Regions from separate parts of the Homo sapiens genome. Here all the other regions are linked to region 2. Evidence: promoter capture Hi-C in 16 types of primary human blood cells and fetal thymus (Javierre and others, 2016). All regions are on one chromosome and are shown on one strand. Each heading gives the region's core, a stretch centred on a gene start or on the middle of the fragment in contact. The rest is flanking DNA. Distances are from core to core; before and after follow the strand shown. Region 1 overlaps EVI5 (ecotropic viral integration site 5). Region 2 holds the start of BTBD8 (BTB domain containing 8). Region 3 overlaps LOC105378856 (a long non-coding RNA gene). Region 4 overlaps CDC7 (cell division cycle 7). Region 5 overlaps EVI5 (ecotropic viral integration site 5).

What was found. The method cuts DNA at HindIII sites, captures the fragments that hold promoters and counts their contacts. A CHiCAGO score of 5 or more calls a contact.
Region 1: a fragment that was not itself captured here is called in contact with the fragment with the promoter of BTBD8 in region 2 in 1 of 17 cell types (naive CD4 T cells); the score reaches 6.8 in naive CD4 T cells.
Region 3: a fragment that was not itself captured here is called in contact with the fragment with the promoter of BTBD8 in region 2 in 1 of 17 cell types (non-activated CD4 T cells); the score reaches 5.2 in non-activated CD4 T cells.
Region 4: a contact is called between a fragment that was not itself captured here and the fragment with the promoter of BTBD8 in region 2, in 1 of 17 cell types (total CD8 T cells). The highest score is 5.1, in total CD8 T cells.
Region 5: a fragment that was not itself captured here is called in contact with the fragment with the promoter of BTBD8 in region 2 in 1 of 17 cell types (erythroblasts); the score reaches 6.0 in erythroblasts.

What each region holds. Positions count from the first base shown.
Region 1 is chr1:92,601,786-92,604,485 of GRCh38, forward strand. The region is part of intron 18 of EVI5 (ecotropic viral integration site 5); the gene reads right to left. Among named protein-coding and RNA genes, the nearest start is that of GFI1, 120 kb to the left of the region's middle. The HindIII fragment of the contact is 975 bases long and covers 941-1,915 here.
Region 2 is chr1:92,078,884-92,081,603 of GRCh38, forward strand. BTBD8 (BTB domain containing 8) reads left to right here and starts at 1,462. Exons shown (of 18, transcript NM_001376131.1): 1 at 1,462-1,837. The coding sequence starts at 1,689. The HindIII fragment of the contact is 1,063 bases long and covers 1,013-2,075 here.
Region 3 is chr1:91,492,118-91,494,817 of GRCh38, forward strand. The region is part of intron 1 of LOC105378856 (a long non-coding RNA gene); the gene reads right to left. Among named protein-coding and RNA genes, the nearest start is that of CDC7, 7.4 kb to the right of the region's middle. The HindIII fragment of the contact is 3,032 bases long and covers 1-2,700 here.
Region 4 is chr1:91,511,611-91,514,310 of GRCh38, forward strand. It overlaps CDC7 (cell division cycle 7), which reads left to right. Exons shown (of 12, transcript NM_003503.4): 5 at 1-80; 6 at 171-313; 7 at 1,448-1,697; 8 at 2,338-2,433. Among named protein-coding and RNA genes, the nearest start is that of CDC7, 12 kb to the left of the region's middle. The HindIII fragment of the contact is 295 bases long and covers 1,105-1,399 here.
Region 5 is chr1:92,653,663-92,656,362 of GRCh38, forward strand. The region is part of intron 13 of EVI5 (ecotropic viral integration site 5); the gene reads right to left. Among named protein-coding and RNA genes, the nearest start is that of EVI5, 130 kb to the right of the region's middle. The HindIII fragment of the contact is 548 bases long and covers 1,177-1,724 here.

The DNA of each region.
Region 1 (2,700 bases), core at 178-2,677, 520 kb after region 2:
TTCATTTTAAACAAAAATCCTGCATACCAGGTTCTTCGTTTTAATAAATATTTCAGAATCAACAAAAAGAGTGATTTAAATTTTACTATTTTGTGATTAAGATGTATAGAAATATGGCAAATTCTTAGGATTTTCTTGATGTTTAGAAAAGTACAGACTAATGCTAAAATCACATACGATAGCATGATTTAAACAACTGATTACAAATATATTATGCAGTTGGCTCATGTCTGAGGTTTTTCTGAATATGTGCACTTTATGGGGACTACTACCAGCAGAACATAAAGGATACCTTTTTATAAACATACAAATCATAATGTGTTGTGGTTACTTTTGATCCAGATCAAAAAATGAAGTTATAATATAATATGTAAGTTTGGAAATTAATTACATTTGAAATTGAAATTTAAAGACAAAAGGAAATTTCAGGTGGGAAGAAAATTCTAGATGTTACAGCAAAGACTATTGTGACTTGGAGTACAATATAATTAAAGACTTTGAAAGACATAAGATTTTAAACATAGTATTTTGTCCATAGGGAAAACTTACTACTTTTATCATATTATACAAGAAGTAAGGCATAAGAAGTGACAAAACACATTTATTTTTATTAAAAAAATTTTTTTTTGAGACAAGGTCTCATTCTGTCACTCAGATTGGAGTGCAGTGGCTTGATCATAGCTCCTTGTAATATGGAACTCCTACTTCTGGCCTCAAGGGATCATTCCACCTTAGCCTTCCAAGTAGCCAGAGCTACAGGAGTGTACTATCATGCCCTCAGCTAATTTTTAAAAATTGTTTTGTAGAGACAGGGTCTTATTCTATTGCCCAGGCCGGTCTTGAACTCCTGGCCTCCAGCAATCCCCTGACCTTGGCCTCTCAAAGCACTGGGATTACAGGCATGAGTTACTGTGCCCTGTAAAAACATATTTATTTTTAAAGCTTTGAATTTTCTTTTGAAGATAGTTTTGATAATATAGAAATATGATAAATTTTCACTAAAAAATGGACTTGGAGCACAGTCAACACCACCAAAAAAAACAAAACAAAACAAAACCCAGGTACGTTGATTCAGCAAAATTAAAAACTTTTGTGATAAAAACACTATCAACAAAGAAAAGGCAACAAACATAATGGGAGAAAATATTTGCAAACCATATATATGATAAGAAAGTGATACTGAGAATATATAAATAACTCCTATAACTCAACAACAAAAACAACAAACAACCTGGTTCAATTAAGCAAAGGACCTGAATAGCCATTTCTCCAAAGAAGATATATAAATGCGAAATAAGCACATGAAAGTATGCCCAACATAGCTCATCATTAGGGAAATGCAAATCAAAACCACAATGAGATACCACTTCACACCCATTAGGATGGTACTTATAAAAACAACAACAGAAAATTAACAAGTGTTGGTGCAAATGCGGAAAAAATGAAATCCTCATGCATTGCTGGTAGAAATGTAAAATGGTGTAGGTTCTGTGGAAAATGGTATGGCAATTTCTTAAAAAAATTAAACAATTACTATATGATCCAGCAATTCCACTTCTACGTACTCAAAAGAAGTTAAAGCAGGGACCTGAACAGAAATTTGTACACCTGTATTCATAGCAGCATTATTCACAATAGCTCAAACATGGAAGCACCCTAAATGTCCATCAATGAATGAACAGATAAAAAATGTGGTATATACATACAATGGAATATTATTCAGCTTTAAAAATGAAGAAAATTTGTAAATATACTATAACATTATAAAAAATGGTTTTTCTTTCAATAATAAATTAACTTACTGTAAGTTTATTTATAAACTTCCAATTTTTTAAACTTTTTGACTCTTTTATAACATTTAGCTTAGCAAACATTGTACAGGTGTATAAAATTTTTTTTATATCTTTATTCTATAAGCTTTTTTCTATTTTTAATTTTAATTTTTAATAAATATATTTTTTGAAACAGGGTCTTACTCTGTGGCCCAGGCTGGAGTGCAGTGCTGTGATCATGGCTTACTGCAGCCTTGACCTCCCAGGCTCAGGCAACCCACCCACCTCAGCCTCCTAAGTAACCGCGACTGGGACTATAGGTGCACCACCAGGTCCAACTAATTTTATTTTGTATTTTTTGTAGAGAGGGAGTCTCACTTTGTTTGTCAGGTTGGTTTCAAACTCTTGGGCTCAAGATCTGCCTGCCTCAGCCTCCCAAAGTGCTGAGATTACAGGCATGAGTCATTACACCTGATGAACAAAAAATTTTTTAAGTTAAAAAAAAATTAAGGCTGGGCGCAGTGGCTCATGCTTGTAATCCCAGCACTGTGGAAGGCAGAGGTGGGCGGATCACTTAAGCCCAGGAGTTCGAAACCAGCCTGGCCAGCAAAGGGAGACCTCATTGCTACTAAATAAATAAATAAATAAATAAATAAGCTGGGTGTGGTCATGTGTGCCTGTAGTCCCAGGTACTCGGGAAGCTGATGAGGACTGCTTGAGCCAGGAGTTGGAGTCTGCAGTGAGCTATGACTGTGCCACTAAACTCCGGTCTGGGCAACAGAGTGAGATCCTGCCTCAAAAAAAAAAAAAATTAAAACATTTGTGTTAAAAACTAAGATATTAGCTTAGGCCTACACAGGGTCAGCACCACCAATATCACTATCTTCAACCTCCACATCTTGTCCCACTGGAAGGTCTTCAGGGACAA
Region 2 (2,720 bases), core at 212-2,711:
CCATATATTATAGTGTGATATATGACATTGTGTGACCTTGGCCAAGTTTACCTATCCTTTGTATGCCTCAGCTTCCTCATCTGTAAATAGGTCTGAAGACAGTACCTAGCTAAATGGTTGTTGTAAGGATTAACTGAGTTAAAACACACAGAGCAAATAGAGTAGCGTTTATCACATAATAAGGATTCAAATATAAGCTACTATTATGTTATCTTTGACACCCCTCGTTTCTACAGGAATAATTAAGAATCAATTATCCATCCAAGCATTTGGGAATTAATTTTAAAAAATCAATTATCCAGTTATATTTTTCAGAATTAAGATGTCTGAATATTTGAGAGGGGGCATTATCTGAAGAAATGGTTACCTCTTGGCCAATCTTATGGTACAAATACAAAGTCCATATATTCCCCTCCCCGCCTCCTTTTTTTTTTTTTTTGTTTGGTAGAGACAGGGTCTCCTTATGTTGCCCAGGCTGGTCTCTAATTCCTGGGCTCAAGTGATCCTCCCGCCTTGGCTTCCCAAAGTGCTGGGATTACAGGTGTGAGCCACCGCAACCTGGCCAATGTATTTTCCAAGCAATTACTATTCTTCACCTTGTGTGTAGAGTTTGTGAATGAAACAGATTTTTTTTTTTTTTTTTTTTTTTGAGACAGGGTCTTGCTGTGCTGTTCAGGCTGGAGTGCAGTGGTGCAATCATGGCTCACTGCAGCCTCGACCTCCCGGGCTCAAGCCATCATTCCGCCTCGCTTCCCAAGTAGATGGGACTTGCCCGGCCCGAAGCGGAACTACTGAGTTTCCTTATTTTGGAGGCAGTAATCAAATAAAAAATACCAAAACCTTAAATGATAATCAGTTTGCTACTTTATTTGGGACAAAAGAGAATTCTATATTTCATCCATCCATCACTTCACTGCTCAAAGACTTTGCCCCTTACCTATTTCTCCCTTCTTGGTCATAAATGTTAGGGCTTTATATGCAAAGCCCTGTGCTTTCTCCGATCAAGTCCAAAAGCTTGTATGAGCCACTCCTTGGATAAGAAGGGGATGGGGCCTTCTAGATGCTGTAAGTATCTCTTATATTGAACTCAGAATTGTTCTGACTGGCAGTTTATGAAGTTCTTCCCCTACTCCTCCCATCGCCAATTTTTCTTGCCCCAAACATTTATACCTCAGGGTTAAGAAGCCAGGTAAGTGAGGGGGTGTGACTCGCCCAGTCTTTCGTTGGAAAAAAGTGTAGACCTGTCAGGAAGACACAGCATAGAAAGGCTGCATGTGCTGATTTGAACTCGAGCCTCAGTAAAACATTGAAATGAATGAACACCAACCGGAAGGGAAAGAAGAGGGGAGGGGATAAGGAGCCTGAGGATTGGTTTGCCCCGCGGGATGGTCCGCGCCTGAGCCATGGGAGGCGGGGTGCCCGCCGGCAGAAGTAAACAGAGCGAGTACGCCTGCGCACGCTCTTCCTGGGTCAAGAGCCGGCTCGGTTCTGGGATTCTGAGGCTCCCCACCGCGGTCCGGCTTCTCTGGGAGACTGTCTACAAACCGACGAGAGGCGTCAACCTTTTACCCTAGGGGGCGGATTTGGGTAGGAGCCGAGCGTTCGGTCGGAAACGCCCCCTTCTTCCTCCTGGGCGGGGCAAGTGAGGCCAAGTACTGGGCCTCCAGGGCGTCGTACCTCTGTGAGACATGGCTCGCTGTGGGGAAGGCAGTGCGGCCCCCATGGTACTTCTGGGGTCCGCTGGAGTTTGCAGTAAGGGGTTGCAAAGGAAGGGGCCGTGTGAGCGGCGCCGGCTGAAGGCGACGGTGTCGGAGCAGCTCAGCCAGGATTTGCTCAGGTAGGAGGAGGCGGGAACTCTGGCTGCTTCAGTTCCTAAATCGCCCACCTCCGCCCCGAAGCTGAGGCTTCTTTCGGCTCTGCCTCCCCCTCCCTCAGCACTTGGTTCTCCTCGCCTCAGGCGACTGCGGGTCGTTAGCCAGTCTCCCCACTATTCCGAAAAGTGGCTTCGCTCGCCCTGAATAAACAATCCCGAGCACCTCGACACCATGTACCAGATTCAAAAGGAAAACAAAAAAAGCTTAGTCGTGTGCAGCACTAGTTTGCTAGAAATATCTCAACACAGGCACGCTTAGTTGTTTCCAATCACTAAGGTCGGGTGGATCCAGGTCCTGAAACTTACACAATTTTTAAAATAAGCTTATACTATTTTAAGAAAAATAATAAAATTAGGAAAACGATTATTTGAAATGAGGAAAGAACAATACTATAGTCTTGGAGGTCTCTTCTGAGGTCTCTTTAAACAATTTACCAGAAATGCTTCCTGATTGCGACCTGGATTCCTCTCTCCACCTAGAGCTCTCTGTAGCTCCCAGCAACTCTCAGCTCCTGTGAGGACCAAAGCAAATGGAGGGTCTTCCTGACATTTAACCTTTGTAAGCCTCATGGATATCCTTCTCGGGTTATTGGGAATCCAGCTAAAGTAATTTCAGCTTACAAAGAAATTGAAGCTTAGAAATATGACCTAGCTAATTTACATTTCCAGCAAGACATTGATTCTTAAACTTGGGTGGGCATCACTGAAATTTTCCATTTCTAACAAGGCCCCAAGTGATGCTAATGCTGCTGGCTAGGGTGACTATGAGAACCACTGAGGTAAACATAATTACTAATAATTAAAAGTTGTGCAGCATTCTACTTTTTTTTTTTTGGAGACGGAGTCT
Region 3 (2,700 bases), core at 143-2,642, 590 kb before region 2:
CTGATAAGGGATTAATACCCTGAATATAAAAGAACTCCTAAAATTCAACAATTAAAAAAATTCAAAAAATTGGAAAAAGCCTTTAATATACTTTTCTCCATAGAAGATATACAAATGGTCACAAACACATGAAAAGATGCTCAACATCAAAAATTACTTGGGAAATGCAAGTCATAACCACAGTGAGATTCCACCTCACATCCATTAGGATGGCCACCATTAAAAAAAAAAAGTGTTGGCAAAAATATGGGGAAATTAGAACTCTGTGCACTGTTGGTAGAAATGTAAAATGGTGCAGCTGCTGTGGAAAACAGTATGGTAGTTCATCAAAAGCTAAAAATAGAATTACCATATGATCTAGCAATTCCACCGCTAGGTACATACTCAAAAGAATCAAAAGGGTCTCCCATGTATACCAATGTTTATAGCAGCATTATTCACAATAGCTAAAACATGGAAGCAACCCAACTGTTCATGACAGATGAATGGATAAGCAAAATGTGATACAGTCATCCCTTGGTATCCATGGGGGATTGGTTACCAGACCCCTCACAGATACCAAAATTCACAGATCCTCAAGTCCCTTATATAAAATGGTGTAGTATTTTCACATAATCTATCCAATCCTCCCATATATTTTAAATCATTCTAGATTACTTATAATACCTAATACAATGTAAATGATATGTAAATAGTTGTTATACTGTATTGTTTAGGGAATTATGGCAAGAAAAAACATCTGTATATGTTCAGTCCAGATGCAAACATCTATAGTTCCCCCTGAATATTTTCAATCTCAGTTGGTTGAACCCACAGATGTGAAATCCACAGATACAGAGGTTGTAGATGCACACGATGCATCTACATACAATGGAATATTATGTAGTCTTAAACAGGAAGGAAATTCTGACATATGCTACAACACAGATGAACCTTGAGGACATTATGCTAAGTGAAATGCGCTTGCCACAAAATGACAAATCTGTATGATTCTGCCAGAGTTACTTAGAGTAGTCAAATTCATAGAAACAGAAAGTAGAATGGTAGTTGCCAGGGTCTGGGGGACTAGGGAATGAAGTTATTGTTCAATGGGTGTAGAGTTTCAGTTTTACCAGGTGAAAAGGGATCTGGAGATGGATGGTGGTGATGGTTGCACAACTACGTAAATGTATTAATACCACTGAACTGTAGTATGCTTAATGATGGTTAAGATGGTAAACTGTATGTTATGTGTATTTTACCACAATAAAAAGGAAAAAATATATAGTTGAGGTCTAATCCAAATGAAGACCTTTGTGTTCAAAGAATCCTAGATTCCAATTTCAGCTCTGCCACTTACTGGCTTGTTGTCATCGGTATTTACTTAATCTTTTTTTTTTTAAGACAGGATTGCTCTGCCTCCCAGGCTGGAGTGCAGCAGCCTGATGATCTCAGCTCACTGTAGCCTCGACCTCTCAGGCTCAGGTGATCCTCCCACCTTCACCTCCCAAGTAGCTGGGACTGGAGGTGTGCACCACCATGCCTGGCTAATTTTTGTATTTTTACTAGAGATGAGGTTTCGCCCTGTTACCCAGGCTGGTCTCAAACTCCTAGGCTCATGCAGTCCACCCACCTCAGCCTCCCAAAAGTGCTGGGATTACAGGAGTGAGCCACTGCGCCTGGCCAGTCTTTTCTAAAGCTAATATTTCTGATCTATAAAATAAGTCCAATAATTAAAGAATTAATAAGATAACACATAAAAAGATCTTACTACAGTGCCCAACTCAGTGCCTATGACAGTGTGCATCAAATGCATCCCCTTCCCTTACATTCATTATGTCAATAATTCAAATATATATCAAATGGGATCAAGAAGGAATTGCGGAGGTTTTCCCTTATAGCACTGCTATTGAACTTTTCTCATTTTTGTTTGGGATGCTTGGATGAGAGAGAAGTCTCCCAGTTTGGTTGCTAGAATTTATGTCCCTCAATGCCAGTACTATGTTCTTTTACCTCATTCAATGTCCATTTACCTCATTAAGTGGCCCAAAGTGTCCATTTCCCTCATTATTCTAATATAGGCCTAAACTTAGATATTATGTACTTACCTCAATTCCAGCTGTACCCTGAGGAAAGGGGTGGAGGGCAGAACAACTTATCCCAATTCCCTCTCAATAATTCACCAGGTTCTTATACAGAAACAGGCCTATTTTAGAGGAGCAGTGGGCCACAGAGAAAGTGCTGTCACCAGCTGGCTAGCTCTTGTTGTGAGCCCATACCTTGTGTGCAGGGAGTATCTATTCTATTTGTTCATACTCTCCCACTGTTGACTCCAAAGAAGAATACTCTGTTTTGGGTGTTTTTCTAAGGAGAGGTGTGTCTAGAGGAAAGTGCTATGTTAGTGACCCTTCTTGAACCATGACTTTGACTGCTACTGACTATCATCTTCAGGAGGAAGCCAAAAAATGGCAGAGTCAAGTCTCAATCCATCATCCAGACATGTAGGATATGCATGGAAGCCCTTCCTATGTTTAGAGCTCAGGCCATCCCTTCCCTAACCCCTCATCCAACAGGGACCCACTGCTCACTAATCCACCTCCTCCAAAAAGCTACATCAGAGAGAAAGGGATGTATTTTCATTGGCTAATTTGTTCCTATGATCCACTTGTTAGAATCACTGACCTGGTTATTATTACTTCAACTGCTTTCTCTTGCAAAGGA
Region 4 (2,700 bases), core at 2-2,501, 570 kb before region 2:
TCATGGGAGTTAAATACTGCTTTAGGAAGAATGATCATGTAGTTATTGCTATGCCATATCTGGAGCATGAGTCGTTTTTGGTAGGTTTTAATATTTCTTGAATTTTTATTAGCTAAATATTTAATTGCAAACAATATTTGTAACTCATTTCATTTGTAACTTTGTTTTAGGACATTCTGAATTCTCTTTCCTTTCAAGAAGTACGGGAATATATGCTTAATCTGTTCAAAGCTTTGAAACGCATTCATCAGTTTGGTATTGTTCACCGTGATGTTAAGCCCAGCAATTTTTTATATAATAGGCGCCTGAAAAAGTAAGTATGAAGAGTTACTAGAAAATATTTATCCTATTTCTTTTAAAAAACAATTTTATTGTCTATATTTAAGGTATTGAACATGATGTTATATATAGTACAAAAGTTACTATTGTGAAGCAAATATTTATCTCAGTTACCCATCTTATTTTTGTTTTTACGGCAAGAGCAGCTAAAATTTACTCATTTAGTATGAATCTCATATACAGTACAGTTTTATTACCTGTAATCTTCAGAGTGTGCATTAGGTCTAGATTTATTTATCCTACATATCTGCTACTTTGTATCCTCTGACTTATATCTCTTAGATATAATATAACATACTGCAATAGCCATGCACAGATTATTTCTGTTTCAGTTTCTTTGTGATTGGAAAGGGAAATTTGGTGATGAAGAAGATAAAATTGTATTAGTGGAATAATGTACATTATTAGATGTACTATGGTTCAGTGGAAATAGCATGAACTAACAGACTTAGAGTCTAATAATTTTTGACCTTAGACATGTCTCTTATCTCTGGACTTCATTTTTCTTTTCTAGTAAGTGAGGGGATTGGACCACATGATAGCCAATTTCCTGTTTTAACACAAAAGTTTTATTTTTATGTATACTTTTTAATGCTGATTATAATTATAGAGAAATTATAAGCTAAAAATAACATAAATACCTCTATATAATGGATCATATTAAACATAATAATATTATAACTTCTTTTTTGAGCTTTTATATGCCTGACTTTTTAATTTTCTTTAATTGGATCAGATTTTAAAACCATGATTTTAATTTTTTTAAGCTTTCTTAACTAGAAATTATCTGCTATGATGCCATCTCTGCCACCATCAGAGAACAACGGACTGTGTTTATGTTATGTATTCCTCTTCTGCCTTATTAACACAGACCACTGGAAAAAGAAAATTTGATTGTGGGACAACTCTTAATTTTCAATCCTGGTTAGCTGTTAAATTCTTACTTTGTCTGGAAAACTTATTTTTTTTTCTTTTTTCCAGAATGTTATAAATTCCTAATTGATCCCAAAAAGAATTACAGTTTTTATGAGGATGGTTTGAGAGTATTACAATGTTACTAAGCTTTAATTGCTACAGATAAGTAAAAATGCTTAATTTTGTCTCTTAGGTATGCCTTGGTAGACTTTGGTTTGGCCCAAGGAACCCATGATACGAAAATAGAGCTTCTTAAATTTGTCCAGTCTGAAGCTCAGCAGGAAAGGTGTTCACAAAACAAATCCCACATAATCACAGGAAACAAGATTCCACTGAGTGGCCCAGTACCTAAGGAGCTGGATCAGCAGTCCACCACAAAAGCTTCTGTTAAAAGACCCTACACAAATGCACAAATTCAGATTAAACAAGGAAAAGACGGAAAGGTTCTATCTCTTTTATTTCTTAAGTACCGACACTGTTTTAGAAATATACTCCTTCAACCAACAGAGGGAGATAGAATACTAGGATAGTACTTATAATTTAAAAAACTTTTTTTTGCATTTGTTATATGTATTCATTTGATTAAATTTTCACTAAGATTTGTACTGAATCATTTTGGTTACTATTTTAAAACTAAAATTTACTTTGTCAGTTTATAACATCTGTCATTAACTATTATGAAATCATATTTTATGACAAAAATGGAAAATATTAAATTTTCCCTGCATGTTAAAAAGTTCAGATTAATTATCCTTTTTAAAAGAAAGCATTAGTTATAGGGGAGGAATTCTGAAGTGTCTATCTCCATTTTAGCTGCACAGCAAAATGTAACATCCATGCAGGTGGTTTTTGAATTTTTTTTTAGTTATATATATTTGTGGACTATGATAACATTGTATGGGTGTTGAGTTCTGTCTAGACTATTTTCTCCTTTCACAGAAGTGGTTTGGTGCCTGAGAATGACTTGGATGCAGCTGTTTTTGTTTCATCTCACTTAACTCTTTCAAAACTATGGCAGAGTACAGCTGGCAGAAAGTGTTACAGATATAATCCTTATTTTCCTTGTTTTTGTTGGTATTGTAGGAGGGATCTGTAGGCCTTTCTGTCCAGCGCTCTGTTTTTGGAGAAAGAAATTTCAATATACACAGCTCCATTTCACATGAGAGCCCTGCAGTGAAAGTAAGTAATGTAGCTTAATAGCATAATGGTCAGTCAGTCATACACTGAAGAGAATTTAGGTAATAACTAGATTAACATTTATTATCAGAAATTTTTTTAAACTAGAGTTTGGCTTTGGCAGAAGGTATTACTGCTTTAAGCATTTAGTCAAAACTTGTTTTCTCCAGTTTTTTTCTGAACTTTTCTGGTGGAATTTTTTCTCATTTTTGGTTAGCTATTACTGTCTTTCTCTAGAGGAACATTTAGAACATTAAGGGCTTTCTGTCA
Region 5 (2,700 bases), core at 201-2,700, 570 kb after region 2:
CCACCATATCTAAGCTTGTGCAAAAGGTGGGACCCCCTCCCCCTCTCCATGCAGAGCAGCAGCGTTCCTGCAAGGGAGAGGAGAGCCAAAAAGCTGTGTGTTTTGGACTGAGGAAGAAGACTCCAAAACAAAGACATTCTGGCAGCAAGCCAAGGGGCAGTCATCTTTTATGGCTCTCAGGTACATTGCAGCCTGGAGATAGACAGTGGTGTCTGACCAATTTGAGTGTTCTGAGTTTGGGGACAGGGGCATGACAGGGAGAGAGATTACATTCCTGCCTGCCCGGGCTATGGAACTGGGGTGGCTCCCTGCCTCTCTGCAGAGACCTCAGTGTACTTACCAGGAGCTTCCCTGCCACCCCCACTCAGGTCTTCTGCTTGTGCTCATCATTGGGGAATCCAAGGGCCGGCTTGGCTGTCCATCTCTGCCCTGACTTGTCCCCTGCTAGGGGGTGAGCAGAGAGCTCAAGCCACTGTACATTCCACAGCCCAGCCCATTGCCTGAAGCAACAAAGAACTTCCCCCATTAAACAAAGATCAAGCACCTGTCCATCTGCTTCTGTTGCAGCAGGCTCTTACCCACAACCACCACCTACTGTCCTGGAGGCTGAAATGCACAACCCAACAGAAAATCTGCTGACACAAGTGCACAGTGCTGGGAAATGAGATAAGATTCTTGAGACTTCCGCCATCCCAGCCCTGCAGGAAGCTGTGATACTACTCACACAGCCAGTACACTACTACTACAACTAGCATTTGAGAAAACCACCACACAAAGGCTATCTATATTCAAAGAACTCATACATTCTGCCAAGGAAGCACCCAGAACATACATTGTAGTTATATCCTTCAGAGGAAAAAAATTCCTGTCCAAATGAAAGTAAATTCAAAAATAAGAAGAAAAGATAAGTTTCTCCATATGAGAAGGAAACAGCCAAACAATTCTGGAAGTATAAAGACAGTGTTATGACATTCTCAAAAGATCACACTAAATCTCTAGCAATAGATCCTAACTAAAATGAAATCTCTGAAATACCATATAAAGAATTAAAAATACTGATTTCCAAGAAGCTCAATGAGATCTAAGAGAAAGCTGAATGAAAATCAACACCAAGAAATCTGAAAATCAAGTCTGGAAATGAAAAATTCATTGAAGAAATTATAAAATACAGGTAAAAGCTTTAACAGTAGACTAAACCCAGCAGAAAAAACAATCTCAGAGCTTAAAGACAGGTCTATTGAATTAGTCCAGTCAGACGAAAATAAAGAAAAAATAATTTTCAAAAATGAACAAAGCCTTTGAGAAGTATAGGGGTTATATAAAATGTCTAAACCTACAAGTCATAGGTATTCCTGAGGGAGATGAAAAAGCAAAAAGTTTGGAAAACCTATCTGAGGAAGTAATTGAGGAAAACTCCCTACTCTTGCTAGAGATTTAGACATCCAAATAGAAGATGCTCAGAGAACTCTAGGAAAATACAGTGCAAGAAGGACTTCACCAACACATATACTCATCAGACTAATGACAACATGAAGGAAAAAAAAAAATCCTAAAATCAGCAAGAGAAAGGTGTCTAATCATCAGTAAAGGAAATCCCCTCAGACTAACAGTGGACATACTGGCAGAAACTTTACAAGCCAGAAAAAAAATCACAATCCCATTTTAAGACTTATTAAAGAAAAAAAAAAACCTGTCAACCATGAATTTTTTATCCTGCTAGAACAAGCTTCATAAATGGAGAAAAAGTCTTTCCCAGACAAGCAAATGCTAACAGAATTCATCACCATTAGACCAGCCTTACAAGAAATGTTCAAGTGAGTTCTAAACATGTAAACAAAAGGTCAATACTCAACATCATAAAAACAGACAAAAGTATAAAACTTACAGGTCTTACAAAAAGGATGATCCAGTAATATGCTGCTTACAAGAAACCCACCTAATACAGACTGAAGGAAAAAGGGTAGAAAATGATATCCCACACCAACAGAAACCAAAAGCAGGCAGGAGTAGCTATCTTTGTATCAGATAAAACAGACTTTAAATCAACAACAGTGAAAAAAGACAAGGAAGGTCATTTTAAAATGATAACGGGATAAAGTCAACGGGAAGATGTAACAATCCTAAATATATATGTACCCGATATAGGAGGTACCCAGATTCATAAGACAACTACTACTGGGGCACATGTTCTCAGGACATCCTGAGACAGTGCCTTGGAAACAAAAATAAATAAAAAGAAAAAGAAAAGAAAACCAAAGAAAAACTACTCTATCTAAGAAAAGAGACAGCAAAACAATAATAGAGAAGGACTTCAACACCCCAATGACAGCATTAAAGATCACTGAGACAGGAAATCAACAAAGAAATACTGGACATAAATTGGACTCTAATAGACATTTATAGGACATTCTATTCAACAACCACAGAATATACATTCTTCTCATCAGCACATGAAATGTTCTCTAAGGCAGACCATATTTTAGCCCATGAAACAAGTCTCAATAAATTTTCAAAAATCAAAATCATATCAAGTCTCTTCTTGGACCACAGTGGAATGTAACTAGAAACTGATTCCAAGAAGAACTCTCAAAACTATACAAATACATAAAAATTCACCTGCTCCCAAATCATCTTTGGGTCAGCAACAAAATTAAAATAGAAATCTAAAACTTTTTTGAAACAAATGAACATGGAGACACA